Linked DNA regions of Homo sapiens: all the other regions are linked to region 1. The links are contacts of gene promoters, found by promoter capture Hi-C in blood cells and fetal thymus (Javierre and others, 2016). All regions are on one chromosome and are shown on one strand. Each heading gives the region's core, a stretch centred on a gene start or on the middle of the fragment in contact. The rest is flanking DNA. Distances are from core to core; before and after follow the strand shown.

Region 1 (4,861 bases), core at 595-3,094:
TATTGAGAGCAAAATTATAAAAAGATCACCATCACTCCATGAGCTGAGAAGCTTAAAACCGCAAATGTACTGAAAAGGAAAACTGATACTTTTTATTACCATCAATTTAGATGACTTAGATGGGAATCTATCCCAGATATTACAAAGGGATTCCACTGCTGTAGAGACTTCAAATACTAAAACTTCCAGATTACATCTAATCTCATGATATAGGCGAAGAGCTGATAATGGGATCTCCTCCTAGGATTCTTACTCTTGAAAGGACGCCACAAGCCTTTTTGCCCAACTTCTTGATGCTAACTTTCCAGAAGGAAAGTTAAATAAACATGACATAGAAGCGATGCTCATCACACTTGCAAAAAGCACTTTACAACAGAGAGAGCGACTCGACTCCTCCTGCAGCCCCGCCGCCTCGGCGGTCGTGAGCCCCTCATACCCTCTCCTACCCCCACTGGCAGCCGGCCCAGTTGGCTGTCCCAGCGGGGAGGAGGAAGCAGGTGGTGCAACGGTTCATCCGGGGGGAAGCAGGTCAGGGTCGGGGGCGAGGCCGGTGCGCGCCGCCCGCTGCCGGGTCAGGGAAGCCGCAGTGCCCGCGGTCCCTTCCCCGCGCGGCGCGGCTCCGGGTAACTAATGTTCCGAGGCGCCTGACTAAACCCTCCAAATCCAAGGAATGTCAGCGCTAACACTCGCGCCCTGGGCGGCAGACAAATGCGTCCCAGCGGAGCCGCCGCGAGCTCCGCGCCGCCGCTCCCCTCGGCGTCGGCCTGAGCTAGCCGGCAGCCGGCGCGGGGCGGCCGGGCGCCGACACAAGTTAGTTTTCCGGCCCAAGCAGCCCTGCCGCAGCCAAGGAAGAGGAACTGCTCCTCTTCCCCCGGATAGCGCCCGAGCACTGCCACAGCAGGGGCTTCCCCAGGCGCTGAGGGCTGGGGGCGGCGGGCAGGCGGGGCGGGGACGCCCCTCCGCCATCTCCGGCCAACCGCCCCTCCCTCGCCCAGGGACGCGAGGGGGACCGGCGGTCCGGGCGAGGCCTCGGCCGCGCATCGCACCCCGGCTCCCCGCCGCCGGAGTTGAGGGGGAGGCGCGCTCTCCGTAAGAGCCGGAGGCGGGGCGCCATCGCCCTCCCACTCCCCGGCGGGCGGGCCGGGGGAGCCCGGGGCTGCGAACACCCCCAGACGGGCGGCTGCGGGAGGGGAGGCTGGACCAAGGGGCCTGGTCCACCGGACCAGCGGTGGCGGCATCGGCATCTCGCCTCCTTCAGGCCTGCACGCGCCACAGGCCGCAGCCTGGACCAACCCCGCGTCCCCGGGCCGTGAGCGCTGCGGTCCCGGCCCCCCAGAGCGGGACGCCGGGCGGCCGCAGCCCCCCGGACCCGGCTCTCCGCCCGCTCCGCCCGCAGTCCCGGCGCGGAGAGCGGCCGCCCGAGCCGCTGCCGCGGCAGCGCGGGTGTCGGCGACGGAGCCCGGGGCGGGGAAGAGCGGAGGAAGGGGCGGCGAGGGGGCGGGCCGGCGGCGGCCAGGGAGGTCGGAGTGCGCGGGGCTCGGCACCCCCTCGGCCCGCGCTGCGCCAGCACCACCTGCGGAGCTGCGGTGCCCACGCCGTGCCGCGACCCCGCCGCCCCTGCTCCCTCCACACGCGGGCAAACAAAACAAGTTGCCGGTCGCTGCCGCCGGAGGGGGCCGGGCGGGTCACTCACCCTCATCCTGCTCAGCGGGCTTGGGTCGTCCGGCCGCGGGGTCAGGGAAGACCAGAGGACCACTAGCCCCAGGAAGCTTCCCACCACCAGCAAACTGCGTAAGATGAACCCAATCTTCAGCCTCATCTTCCTCCGGCGGCGAGAGACTCACAGCCCGGCGCAGCCGCCGCCACCGCTCTCCCCTCCCTCCTTCCCCCTCCTCCGGCTCTCCTCCCCCTCTTTCCCCCACCCCTACCGCTACGGCTGCCGCCCTCTCCGCTGCCTGCCCTTTCCAGCTCCAGATCCGGAACTCCCCTCGGCTACACCTTTCCCCGGGCTCTTCCCTCCGCTCCTCCCCGTGGCCCCCTCCCCTCTGGCGGCCACCGCAGAGCTCCGACTGACCCGTGTGCCTCGCTCTGCCAGGCTGCCTTCCTCTCTACCTGCCCCCTTCCAGATCCGCAGTCCCCTGCTCTCCACGCGAGCCCCCTTCACAGTCCCTGCTACCTTGTAACTAACTTGCACTTTTCCCGAGTCCGGTTCTTAGCCTTTGCCCTGCAGCTCAGCTCCTTAAAGCTTTCAGATCCCCAAACTTTTATTGTAATTATGGACAATAACTCCGTCCTTAACGCCTGTGCCCTCCGGGATCCCGTGGCCCGCCGCCCCCTCCGTTGGACCTGGAGTCGCTCTCGTCTGCACCTCTCCCTTAGACCCACTTCCCTGAGCCCCTTGTCGAGAGGCTTTCAGGAAGCCAACCAGGAAGTGGGACTACCGCTGCTGCTGCAGCAGCTCCACGTGGCTGATTTATAGCTGAAGGGTTTTTTTTTTTCCTTCTTATTGATTGTTCTTGCTTTTTCACACGGCTCCTTAAGGTGGTGAATTTGTAACCGAAAGGCCCAGGTGAGATGTGCAAATATCACTGGATTGGAGGAGCTCACTTGGAAAGCCAGTATTCCTCCTGAGCTAATGAAAAGAAAGGCTGTCGTCTTATGCCAAAAGCAATACCAACCTTGTTCACGGGCTGGTAAGTTTCAAATCCAAGGACCACGGATTTCAACTCCACCCTCATTGCGTCCCTCAGATCTGATATTTGCCACTTGATTTCTGCTTTTCAAACGCCTTTTCTGCCTGTGTTACCTAAATTACACAGTAAAGGATATTGGCAAGTGTTTAGCCAAATGCCCCACCCTGAGGAAATAATTTTTCTGCCCATATCTCCCAATAAAGATGTCTATGCCTTTATAGCAGAATGTATGTAATTACATTATCAGTGTACTATATCCTAAACTGCTAATTTAAATTTAAGTCGAACAAAACGTTTTAAGATTTTATCCTAAGTTTTTTGGGGTTTTTTTTCTTTTCTTTTTTTTTTTTTTTTTTTTTTTTTTTTTTTTTTTTTTTTGAGACGGAGTCTCTCACTCTGTCACCCAGGCTGGAGTAGAGTGCAGTGGTGCGATCTTGGCTCACCTCAACCTCCACCTCTCGGGTTCAAGCAATTCTCCTGCCTCAGCCTCCCCCGTAGCTGGGACTACAAGTGCACACCGCCACGCCCAGCTAATTTTTTTTTTTTTTGTATTTTAGTAGAGACGAGGTTTCACGGTGTTGCCCAGGCTGGTCTCGAACTCCTGAGCTCAGGCAATCTGCCTCGTACTCCCAAAGTGCTAGGATTACAGCTGTGAGCCACCACACCTAGGCTATCCTAAGTTTTAAGATGGTAACAGCTGATTCTTTTTTCTCGTACTGTCTCACATCTGCAAGTTTTTTGCTTTAAAACAAAGCTCAGTTATGTAAAGTTTTACAGTGAAACAATTTCAATTATCAAGATAGATAAAGAATTATACCAAACTACCTTCATGTGCTTTTTGGCTTGGCTTACAATAGCTAGTATATCAGGGAGTTCTGTAGATGCCATAATTTCAAAATTTCCACAAAATATCTGAAGTGATATCCTCATGAACAGCATGGTTCCGGAAATGTAGAATGGATTGTAGTTAGGTGTATTATTGGTTGGCTGAAGGACTGTACATCATATTGTATAAAAGTCCACTATATAGAGTACCTGGAAGAGGGACTGTCAAGTGTTAAACACAAATCACTGCTTGACTTAGCATTTATATCAGCCCCTTAGGTTAAAACCAGTTGTTTTAAGTAGAAGATGAGAGATTTTGCCTAAGACCATTTTTTTTGTGTGACAGAGATCTAGAGTGTGTAATTCACGAAGTATGAATCTGCTGGGTAATGTGATATGAAAAGCGAATGCACCATTTCTTGGTGATGATTCAGGTCAGCGTTGGGACCCAGGAATCTCCTGTTAATCAGTACCCTGGTGATTTTGATCCAGGTAATCTGGGCACCACCTTTGGAGAAACACTGAAAGGAAGCAAGGTTGCGGGGGGTGGTTGGGAAAAGTCTTATATGGATATCTTTGGAAGACAGAAATAGGCTCATTTATGGACTCAACTTGAACTGTTCAGAAGTGAGGTGGACTCCTTTTCTTTTTTATTTATTTTTTTTTTGAGTTGAGGTCTTGCTCTGTCACCCAGGCTGGAGTGCAGTGGCACATCCATAGCTCACTGCAGCCTGGAACTCCTGGGCTCAAGTGATCTTCCCACCTCAACCTCCCGAGTAGCTAGGACCACATGTGTGAGTCATCATGCCCAGCTAATTTTTTTTTTATTTTTTGTAGAGACGGGGTCTATTATCTGGTCCTGTTGTCAAGGCTGGTCTCAAACTCCTGGCCTCCAGCGATCCTCCCTTTTTGGCCTCCCAAGATGCTGGTATTACAGGCATGAGCCACCATGGTCCACCCGGACTCCTTTTCATAGGAGACAGTTCCCTAGGCAGAGACTGGGCTTGAAACAGGTAACTTACAAGGCATCCTGTGATCATAAGAGAATAATTCCATTTGAAATCAGCAGCTGAAGTCCACCTGAATAATTAAGTCTTTCACTTGTGTTATTTTCACAGGGGAGACAGTTTTTTATTCTTAAGAAGGTAGGAAGCTTTATTTTTACTGTTATGAGCATAGCTGGGCAAGTATGCAAATGGAAAGTGATACCTATCATCAAAGTATTGAGGATGGTCCTTTGAAGGCCCTAGTATTCTGAGAACATCCTGCCACCACTACCACCCCCCAACTTTAGTTTTACACAGAGAACTTAAAATATGTGTGAAAGAGTATATAGTTATACA
Region 2 (4,861 bases), core at 623-3,122, 3.4 Mb after region 1:
CAGAGATAAAAGGAGCTATATTCATGAAAAATAATGTAATGCTATAAAAGAACAGAGAATAAAAAGAGCACTGAGAAATAAAGGTATAATACAGAAATTAAGTAATTAATCTTTATTAAGTATAATAAAGAAATTAAGTAATTGTCCAATTAAGTTGAGAAAGTCACAGAGAAAGTAGAATAAAAATATGAAGACATAGAAAATAGGACAGACAGGTAAGAAAAAACATCAGCCAAGAAGGTCCACGATCTAAATAACAAATTTCAAAAAAGAAGAGATACGATGGGGGGTGGGGGGGAAGAAATGATCAAATAAATAATACCAGAAGAATTCCCATAACTGAAGAACATGTGTTTCAGGATTGAAAAACTGGTCGATAGGAATGAGAAAAGACCCATAACCAAGACACTCAATAGTGTTTTAGAACACTGGGAATAGGCCGGACGCGGTGGCTCACACCCGTCATCCCAGCACTTTGGGAGGCCGAGGAGGGCGGATCACGAGGTCAGGAGATCGAGACCATCCTGGCTAACACGGTGAAACCCCGTCTCTACTAAAAATACAAAAAAAAAAAAAATTAGCTGGGCGTGGTGGCGGGCGCCTGTAGTCCCAGCTACTCCGGAGGCTGAGGTAGGAGAACGGTGTGAACCCGGGAGGTGGAGCTTGCAGTGAGCTGAGGTGGCACCACTGCACTCCAGCCTGGGCAACAGAGCGAGACTCCGTCTCAAAAAAAACAAAACAAAACAAAACAAAACAAAAAACACTGGAAACAGAGAAAAGATCCTAAAGCTTCTTGAGACAAAACAAAACAGAAAGGAAAGCAGGTTACATATCAAGAAATTTAGTGACCTGTGAAGGAGAAGGAAATATAACGACATAGTTTCTTAACAATTCTGGAAGCTAAAATATTGCGGAGCAAGCCCTCCAATATTCCGAGTGAAAGTTATTTTCAACCTAGAACTGTGCTCAGCCAGAATAAAAACATTTCCAGACATGCACACTCTGTGGGAAAAAAGACCTGGCAGCAACCTCTCTCAAGGAACTATTGGCGGATATGTTCCACAACATGAGGGTATATAATCAAGAAAAAGGAACACCCAGATTGAGGAAATAGAGAACTCATCTCAGGAATGAGGAATAAGACCTTCCCAGGATGGATGTGAAGGAGGTCCAAGGACATCAGTTGAGAGTTGTGCCTTCCAAATTTTATGTGCATAGGAATTACCAGGGGATCTTGTTGCGATGCAGATATTGATTCAGTAAGTCTGGGTAAGGCCTGAGATTTGGCGTTTTAACAAATTCCCTCAGGATGCTGAGGCCGCTGGTTCAGGGACTACACTTTGCATATCAGCGGTGTAGAGGAAAAACAGTCCAAATTGTACCAAGAAGACGACGGTACAGAGACAGAGACCGACAGACATTTATTTCCTTCTTGGAGACAATCGGGAATGAATTAGTGTAAGCCAATAACCGTACAGTAGGGTAGGGAGAGGGATGGAGGAGAAGGAGAAAAGGATTAATATTTTAAGTAAATATAAATGAAGAAAAAACAAGGAAGGGGCTGTATTGAGAACAGCCGCATACATCCAACCTTGCCTCTAGTAGACACCTGAAGAGGAAGGTTGGACCACTCTAAGGATTCAGATTCAGTAGTCTGGGGGGTCTCTGGAGCGACCCTGGAAGATGCTCCAGAAAGCCTAGATGCAGACTACGCTGACAGAAGACGCTCCTTGCACGCGCCCAGCACGGGAGTGGGCGGGGCCTCAACGCGTCCGGTGCCAGGTCTCAGGGGGCGGGGAATGGGCGGAGCCTTTCCCCTAAATTGGCGAGCCCGGGCGGCGCTGAAATTCGGCTTGGAGGCTTTTGAACCCGGAAGCGGTTGGCGGCGCTCGGAAGCGGCCGCGGATCGGGGAATTCTGCTGGCGCTGCAGCTGCAGAATGGTCGGCGGTGGCGGGAAGCGCAGGCCCGGCGGAGAGGGGCCGCAGGTACTGCCGGAAAGGCTGTGCGGGCTACGCGGGGCGCTTTGGGTGACAGCCAGGGCACCAGGAGGCAGCGCTTTTCATTCATCCAGTGACTATTAAGCTTGCTGTGTGTCCAGGGGCTGCGGTTTGCTGCGGGGATCCTGCCCAGGGCCGCTGTTTCGCGCTCTGCAGGGGGTTGGACCAGGAAAGTAGCTCCTCTGCATCTTCTGCCCAGCTCCTCTTGGAGCATTTCCTGGGGAAACGGATTAAGCCAACCAATGGTTCATTCGCCCAGCCAGATTGATTGGGAACCGATTACATACCTGACATTCTGTGGGGCGCTGCGGATTTGGGGGTCAACCTGCTTGCTCCTGCTGCTTGTTGAGCCCTCGGCCTGGGGAGGAGGGGCACAAGCAAATATGCATTCTACTGTGACTTTTTTGTTTGGGATTATAACGCTGGTGTGTAGAAAGTGCTATGGAAACACTGAAGGAGGATTTAACAAGTCCCAGGGGGTGTTAAAGAAGACTTTTAAGACAACTCTTTGAAAATTGGTTTTGAAGGCAGAGAAGTAAGATTCTGAGACATAAAACTGTAGGAGATGTTTGGGCGTAGCGGAGCGTTCGGCTTGGCTGGAGCCAGGGAAATGGGAAAATAAGAGGGACCTGATCATAAAAGCACTACTGAGAGGGGAGGAGGAGAGAGTGTGTGCATTCTCATACTTTACTACGATTTCGGAAGTTCTGTAACCACTACAGTAGCAATAAGGGGAATCAGGAAAGAAGTGCCATTGTGATAACTAAAGTTTTAGAAAAGTTACTCTGGTAGTGTCATAAATCGGACAGGGTGAGACATTCTTAGAGGGCTTAACTAACTGTTAAAGGGCCATCGGTATAGGCATCCTTCATATTGGGTCATGCATTCTAGGAAGACCAGGGTAAAGAAGAAGTGTAGCCTCTGAAGGGGACAGCTGTTCTAAATCCTAGTTGTTAGGGCTATGGAGATGCTGAACTAGTGTGTGAGTAAAGGCACAGCTGAAAAAATTCTCTTTTTGAAGGTGCAGTGAAGAACTGCTTTGGTGGAGTGATGTGCTTAACTAGAAATACAATAACAGAAATGAAGATGAGTCTGTAGAGACTATAACCGTAATGGCCAGCATTTGTATATTATGTGCTAGGACCGTTCTGTGTATTTTTACATATAATAACATTCCTTGTAACAACCCCGATATAGGCACTGTATGCCCTTTTTGCAGATGAGAAAACAAAGCACAGAGAGGTTAAGTAACTTGCCTAAGGTTGGAAATCAGTAGAGTCAGGAGTCAACCCAGGCAACCTAACTATTATGCAAAACTGCCTTTCAGCAAGGCAGATTAAGCCTTTTCTAACATCTTAAGTTGGAGCCAGTCTTTGAACGTCTGAACAAAGACAGTTATGAAAACAGAAGATAGGATAGCTCAGGACTTCATATGTTCCTACTGTTCTATATTTGATGTTGGAGAAGCAGCATAGTGAAGTGGTTGAGGATCTGCTGTGGACCCAGATTTAAACCTGAGTTTAAATCCCTTCTCTTCCACTTCCTAGTTAGGGACGTAGGGAGGTTAACCTCAGTTTCCTCAGCTGTACGATGAGGTTAATGGTATCTAGTGCATGAGACAGTTGAGGACTAAATGAGTTAATCCACAGAAGGTGCTTAGAACAGTGAAACAGCACAAAATAAGTTCTCAGTAAGTATCACTTAACTACTTGTTTTTACTATTATATTATCTTTACTATTACTATTTGCTATTATTGATACTCACTTTTGGATTCATTGTTCAACAGGCTTTTTGTTGAACGTAATTTTTTTTATAAATCAGACACATTATAATCCTTGGCATAATAAACTGTTACCATATTCATGATCGTCTTTGACCTTATTTATGTTAAGTAATGTAACAAACACCAGTGAACCCATTGCCCAATCCCAAAGCTGAAACAGACAATAGCTCTACATCTACACGTGTTCCTCTCCTATCCGTTCAGCCTTCTTCCTGTCAATTATTTTCAGTGTAGCTATCCTGAATTTTGTTTTCCCTTGCCTTTTAAAAATAGGCTTATCTCCCATGAGTGTATACCTAAACAATATTTATTCTTAGTTTTTGAACTTCATAAAAAGGCTATCATGCTGCATATAATCAAGAGCTTTTTTCCTCATTAAAAATATTGAATATAGGTTGGTCCATATTGTGTAGCCATAGAGTAACCATTCGGTAAATGACGGAGATTGGTTCCAGGACCTTAGGAGAGCATACACTAATTTTTAAAGCAACAAGAAAACAAACCATCTCATTAGCCAAAGATAACACAGTTAATAGTCTAGTATACAGTAACAAATTTCCATATATCCCCAAATCTGAGCATACCCAAGTTCCAAAGTTGGTCCTGTGGAACCCGAGTATACGAAAAGTTGGCCCTCTCTATAAGTGGATTTCACATCCCAAGAATACTGTATTTTTTTATTTGCATTTGGTTGGAAAAAAAATTCATGTATAAGTGGGTCCACAAAATTCAAACCCTTGTTGCTCAAGGGTCAACTGTAATATTAAGTGTAATAGTCTATTGTTTGAAAACCTTACAACTGTTCTCCTAACAATAGGTATTTCATTTGTTCTGTTTTTGCTCTTGGAATTAATGCCACCATGACCATTCTTGTATCATCTGATTACATTTTGTAGACGTTGAATGATACCTAACGTTAATAAACTTCAGACTACTGAGAAAATAGAAGAATATAAATATGAGGGGGCGGGGGGAGGGATAGCATTAGGAGATATACCTAATAATGACGAGTTAATGGGTGCAGTACACCAACATGGCACATGTATACATATGTAACAAACCTGCACATTGTGCACATG
Region 3 (4,861 bases), core at 794-3,293, 3.1 Mb after region 1:
ATCTACAATCTGTAAAAGTACTTTCCCTGTGACTTTTCTCCATTTCAGTACTGTCTTCTCTAAATGAGAATTAAAAGCAAGTTCCCCACACCGACCTCAAGTGGTTTCTAAGATAGCAAGAGTGCATTTTGCAGGTTGTCTGAGAATTTAAAAGAGATGGGGGAGGGGAGGAAATAGAGTCAGAGTGAATGCAGAAATGCTGGAGAAGAAAACGGGATATAATACTGCGGAATATTTTAATAGTGGGGACACAAATGTCATAATTAATAAAGCAGGTGGAAAGTTCGCGCTGTGGTGCAATTGTAAAGAATGCTTATTAAATACTTAAAAACAAAGAAAATTTACGTTTCTCAAAAGGACAGCTGAAAAATTCCTTGAGCTAAAATGTGTTGCTATTCAAGATGCCATAAAACTAATGTTAAAATATGATATCTCATTTCAATCTTTTTGGGGGAAAAAATCAGGCTTTGACTCACTCATACGACAGATCCCACGCACCCACCCACCAACATGGCCCTTGGCATGGGCGACCTGCCCACGTGTCGATGCAATCGTGCCTCTCTAGAGCCCTGCTTCCATCCGTTTCCCGAGCTTCGATGTCGTGACGAGAGACCGCGGCTACATCAACCTTGGGCAACCAGATGCAGCCGCGTGCGGCAGCCTGGCACTGCCCGGAGCATGCTCAGTCGGGTCCTGACCCACTTCTGCAGGTCCGACCTCGGGGCGTGGGGTCAGAGGCACTACTTTGCCAGTTTGCCAGGAACAGAGAGGAGCAGAGAGACTGAGAGTTGCTAAAGCTCCTCTCTTGGCACAGCAATGCCTGACCCGGCGGCGGAACATGCCCAGTCTGGCTGCCGGAGCCGCCGGGAGCGTCAATGTGGAAAGTCCACCTTTCCGGGTTTTCGCAGCAACCCACCGGGAAGAGGGCGGTACGGGAGTAAAAAGGCCGGAGTGGGGTGTGGCCAAGAGGGCGGGCACTAAAAAGCCGGGGGAAGGAGCCTGGTCCCGCCCCAGAAATTGAGAGTCTCTGTTCTCTTTTAAAATTAAAAAAAAAAAAAAAAAAAGGGAGATAAGGAGGAGAAGAAGCCACTAACATTGCAGGATCGTGTAGCGAAACTTCTGTAGGTACTTAATAATTTTAGAGTACTCTACTTTTTAATTAAAAAATCAACTTATGGTTCATTAGAAAAAACGTGGAAATTACAAATAATATTTTTAAAGAAAATGAAAAAAAAATTCCTGGAACCCCACCACTCAGAAAGTCACCAGGGAACGGCCCGCTGGGTTTTTTTCCAGACTCTTCCATCTGTGGACTTTGCTTTAAGAGACGTTTAAGACTTACAGCGCAGTCGCCCGGGAAGGCCTGAGAAGCTTTCGGAAGCAAGGTGGTTTGCTCGTGATTGCATTTGATTGCAAGGAGACAGGGTAGGCTTGGGGGTGGGTTGACTGGTTCCCATTTAGCGCCCCAGGATGGGACCCTAAGAAGCCTTTTCCTGGGTGTCCTTGAACACGCGTGCGATGCGACGCCCACAGAAGTTGCGGTGGAAGCCCCGGGCGGGAGAGAGAGCGGAGTGAGAGTCCCGCGCTGCCGCGGAGGCCCTGGGCCTGCGGGTGTGGGGCTCTGGGGGCCGCCGAGGCCCGGCCCAGAGGCTGAGCGGACTGAATGCGGGACTCCCCGGCAACTACAGCCTCCGGTGGCTCCTCCGCGGGGCCGCTCCGCAGCACCGACTGGCTCGCGCCGCACCGCCCGCCCCGCTGCCCCCGCCCGCGGCTGCCGCGAAAACCCGGCGGCTACACCCGCGCCTCCGCGCCGCCCGGCGAGCCGCACTGGGCATGCTCGGCCCCGGCCGGCCCAGGCTCCTGTAGGTGGGAAGCTCCGCGCTCCCGGCAGCCGGCGGCGCAGCTCGCAACGCTGTGAGGCGCCGGCGGAGGCGGCTCGCCCGCAGTAGGCGCTACCGGGCGTCCGGCGCAGAGTGCGGCGCAGCGGCCGCTGTCGGGCTGGCCATGGCGAGGGGTGCACGGCGGCCACCTGAGTGGCGCGGCGGTGTCAGGTTAGCGGGGGCCCCCGGCGGGCCGGGGCGGAGGGGCACGGGTGGGAGCCAGCCCCGCACCGGGTCGGCGGCCGAGTCGGCGCCGGGGCCGCCGAACTTTCGGGTGTTTGGGCTGGCTGAGACTGCGGCGGAGGCTGCGCTGCGAGACGCCGCAGGGTCCGGGCAGCGGGCTCCAGGGGGTCGCAGGATGCTTCGAGATCCGTGCGGGGCGGGGGCTGGCCGTTTGGGGACTGCCGCATCCTGGGCTCGAACCGTAACCTTCCGAGGGCGAGGAGCGCGGAATCCACTGCCAGCTGCCGGCGAGCCTCCTAGGTGTCGTGGGGGAAGGGGACGCCGAACAGCCGTGGGGGCTTTCGCTGGGCTCTGGATCTCTCTCATCGCTGTGCCTCAGTTTACCCGGACAGGGAGGAGCGTGCGCTGGCCAGGGCTCCGGAGAACGTGAATGCGGGTTCCGCGTCGGGAGGGCGCCGTGTCCTGATGCCGCAGGAGTGCGGGCGGCTGTGGGTGCTGCGAGCCGCCGCCTCGCTACTGAAGCTCTCGGAGTTTGTCGCATTTGACTCCATAACAAGTTGACATCGAATTGCTTCATGGCGTGGAATGGGGAAACGTGCTTCATCGGATTAAAATACAGAGTGATTGCAGAACCGATTTATTTTAAGCTTGATCATTAAGCTGTCTTCTCCAGCCCTGAAAAAAAAACTTGCAAGCTTTATAAAGCAAGGTAGCAAAAAAAGGTTTGTAGGTGTATTATCTGCTCACATTGTAGAAAACAGTTAAGATACGATCGAACTGTCATTATTTTTAAGGATACTTAGCAGAAAAGTTTGGTTACTGTGGCAATCTTTATTTTGCGTTATCTTCGATTTAATGTTAAAAACTTGGAAACCGAGCATTGCAGAAGCTCAGTGTTTTTTGTAGTTTTCTCACTTTTGTTTCTAGATGAAACACATTTTTTTCAGTTGCTACTATGCTGAACATAGTAAAATCCTTCAAGATGAAATACAAGATGGAAAAAAATGTCGTTTCATGAGACCGTAAGTTATAACAGTGTAGTTCTTCTGACATTTTACTTACACAGAAAGTGCAATTTGTAGGTCCCAGTGTGGTTTCTACAGTTGTTTATTCCTAAAACATTTAGTACCATTAACACTATTAGGATTATTGTATCTAATAGGGGCAAGATAAACAATCCTGTTCTAGTGGGAACTAGTTCTGCTAACTAAAGCTAAATTCTCAAGCCTCTTTTCTATAAGTACCACTTAGTGGGTTCAGTTGTTTTATTCATTAAGCTTATTACAAAACAATTGTTTACATTCTTTATAGACCTTAATAGACTTTAGAAATGCATTGACTTTTCATTGAGTTGTGGGTAGGCTTTAAGGTTGGTGCTTGCTTGCAAGCCTGAGATGGCTCCAGCTCTAATTCTGGATACTCTCTGGGGTGATTTCCCCCAGTATAGAGTTGGCTCTGTCCTGTGATGCTGCATAACCGAGGTTTAATAATAGGAAAGGCTTGAAACATCCAGACAACAGCAGTAGCAACAACATGATTACCATTTTTATGAATTAGAACCTGCAGTCCCCCATTTTAGCCAAATAGTCTGGTTGGTGATGTTCACTCATCCTAAATTTATTTCTAAATACATTTATAGAAAAATAAGTTTGAAAACTCCAACACAAATATTGAATAATTGTGCTTCTCTTTTCTATAAAAATGCATCAAGTTTAAAATCTTTCATGAAGTACTGCCTGCATGTACACCTTATCCTGAACAGCAGGTCTCATATCCTCAGGTGACATTCCCCAGTAGAAGTAGCTAGAGTCTCCCCTTAGCCTTGGGTTCTTCCTGACCTGGAGGAAGCAGCAAGGCCTCAGTTTACTTTTTGTGAATGTGAGGTTTAATACAGATCAATAGGCCCCCTTCTCGATCCACAAATCCTAAGTACAAATCCTAAGTATTTTCTCAGTGTTAAGAGACACGATGAAATTTAATCAAAGACTTACTTACATACTGCCCTTGGCTTCAAAAAGTCCACATTTCCCTAACCTAAAACTCAAAAAAACAACAGGAGTTAGGTTGAAAAGGGGTTTTATTACTGCTCATGAAGAAAAAAATAGACTTTGTAGGCATGTTACAAAAAAAGGTGATCATTTCTTCTCTTTTGTAGTTAACTATTGGGTTCTTGCAGCTCACTTGCTAGGCACGTGATTTTTAGGTTTATTTCCATGTGTTTAGATTTCTAGACTGTATGATGTTGTTGGTGACATTAGACATTTACAGCAAATTACTCCCTTTAAAAATAGATCTATCCCCCAATCCCTGTGACCTTAATTTATCCAATTCCTATTTGGCTTGCAATTTAAATACTCGAGGCATTTTAAATTGTGCTTAATTTGGACTTTTTATTCTACTTTTTAATGCAAGAACTTTTAGATACTGGAATACAAATAAATATTGTAGCCAAGTTGCTTTTAACCTCAACACAGCCTAGCCAGATTTGTTAAACAAGTGTTAGTTTTTGGAATTTAGAAATCATGCAGATACTATCACTCCCCTAAGTTGGCATCTAACCCAGCACTTAGGGTGTGACTTGTCTTTCCTAGCCAAGGCCAGGAGGACACTTAAAACTTTGACAATGTTTTCAATCTATGGCATATCACATTGCGGTTAGAAATGGCCTTAAAATGCCAGTGGTTAATTTTAAGTTTGGTATAATACCTCCCTGGCATGGTTGAAAGATGGTTACAAAGGGTTTGGTTGATTATGTCATGGTGTAACCACTTAAGAGCTATCAGAAGTAGTTTATAAGT

The links. Contacts are between HindIII fragments. The CHiCAGO score rates a contact against its expected background, and 5 or more counts as called.
Region 2: the fragment with the promoter of HPF1 here is called in contact with the fragment with the promoter of GALNT7 in region 1 in 3 of 17 cell types (fetal thymus, total B cells and activated CD4 T cells); the score reaches 8.4 in fetal thymus.
Region 3: a fragment that was not itself captured here is called in contact with the fragment with the promoter of GALNT7 in region 1 in 1 of 17 cell types (total B cells); the score reaches 6.2 in total B cells.

The regions. Positions count from the first base shown.
Region 1 is chr4:173,165,794-173,170,654 of GRCh38, reverse strand. It overlaps GALNT7 (polypeptide N-acetylgalactosaminyltransferase 7), which reads right to left and starts at 1,844. Exons shown (of 12, transcript NM_017423.3): 1 at 1,694-1,844. The coding sequence starts at 1,819. GALNT7-DT (GALNT7 divergent transcript) reads left to right here and starts at 1,003. Exons shown (of 7, transcript NR_134242.1): 1 at 1,003-1,791; 2 at 2,542-2,693; 3 at 3,865-4,010; 4 at 4,356-4,531. RefSeq lists silencers at 466-1,695, 1,926-2,045, 2,116-2,165 and enhancers at 2,476-2,575, 4,654-4,733. The HindIII fragment of the contact is 476 bases long and covers 1,772-2,247 here.
Region 2 is chr4:169,754,955-169,759,815 of GRCh38, reverse strand. It overlaps HPF1 (histone PARylation factor 1), which reads left to right and starts at 1,872. Exons shown (of 8, transcript NM_017867.3): 1 at 1,872-1,986. The coding sequence starts at 1,939. It overlaps LOC107986240 (a long non-coding RNA gene), which reads right to left and starts at 1,753. Exons shown (of 3, transcript XR_001741529.2): 1 at 1,592-1,753. RefSeq lists an enhancer at 1,955-2,024. The HindIII fragment of the contact is 1,294 bases long and covers 792-2,085 here.
Region 3 is chr4:170,023,424-170,028,284 of GRCh38, reverse strand. It overlaps MFAP3L (microfibril associated protein 3 like), which reads left to right and starts at 1,890. Exons shown (of 3, transcript NM_021647.8): 1 at 1,890-2,051. RefSeq lists enhancers at 665-804, 794-1,513 and silencers at 985-1,054, 1,513-1,912, 1,993-2,082. The HindIII fragment of the contact is 1,339 bases long and covers 1,374-2,712 here.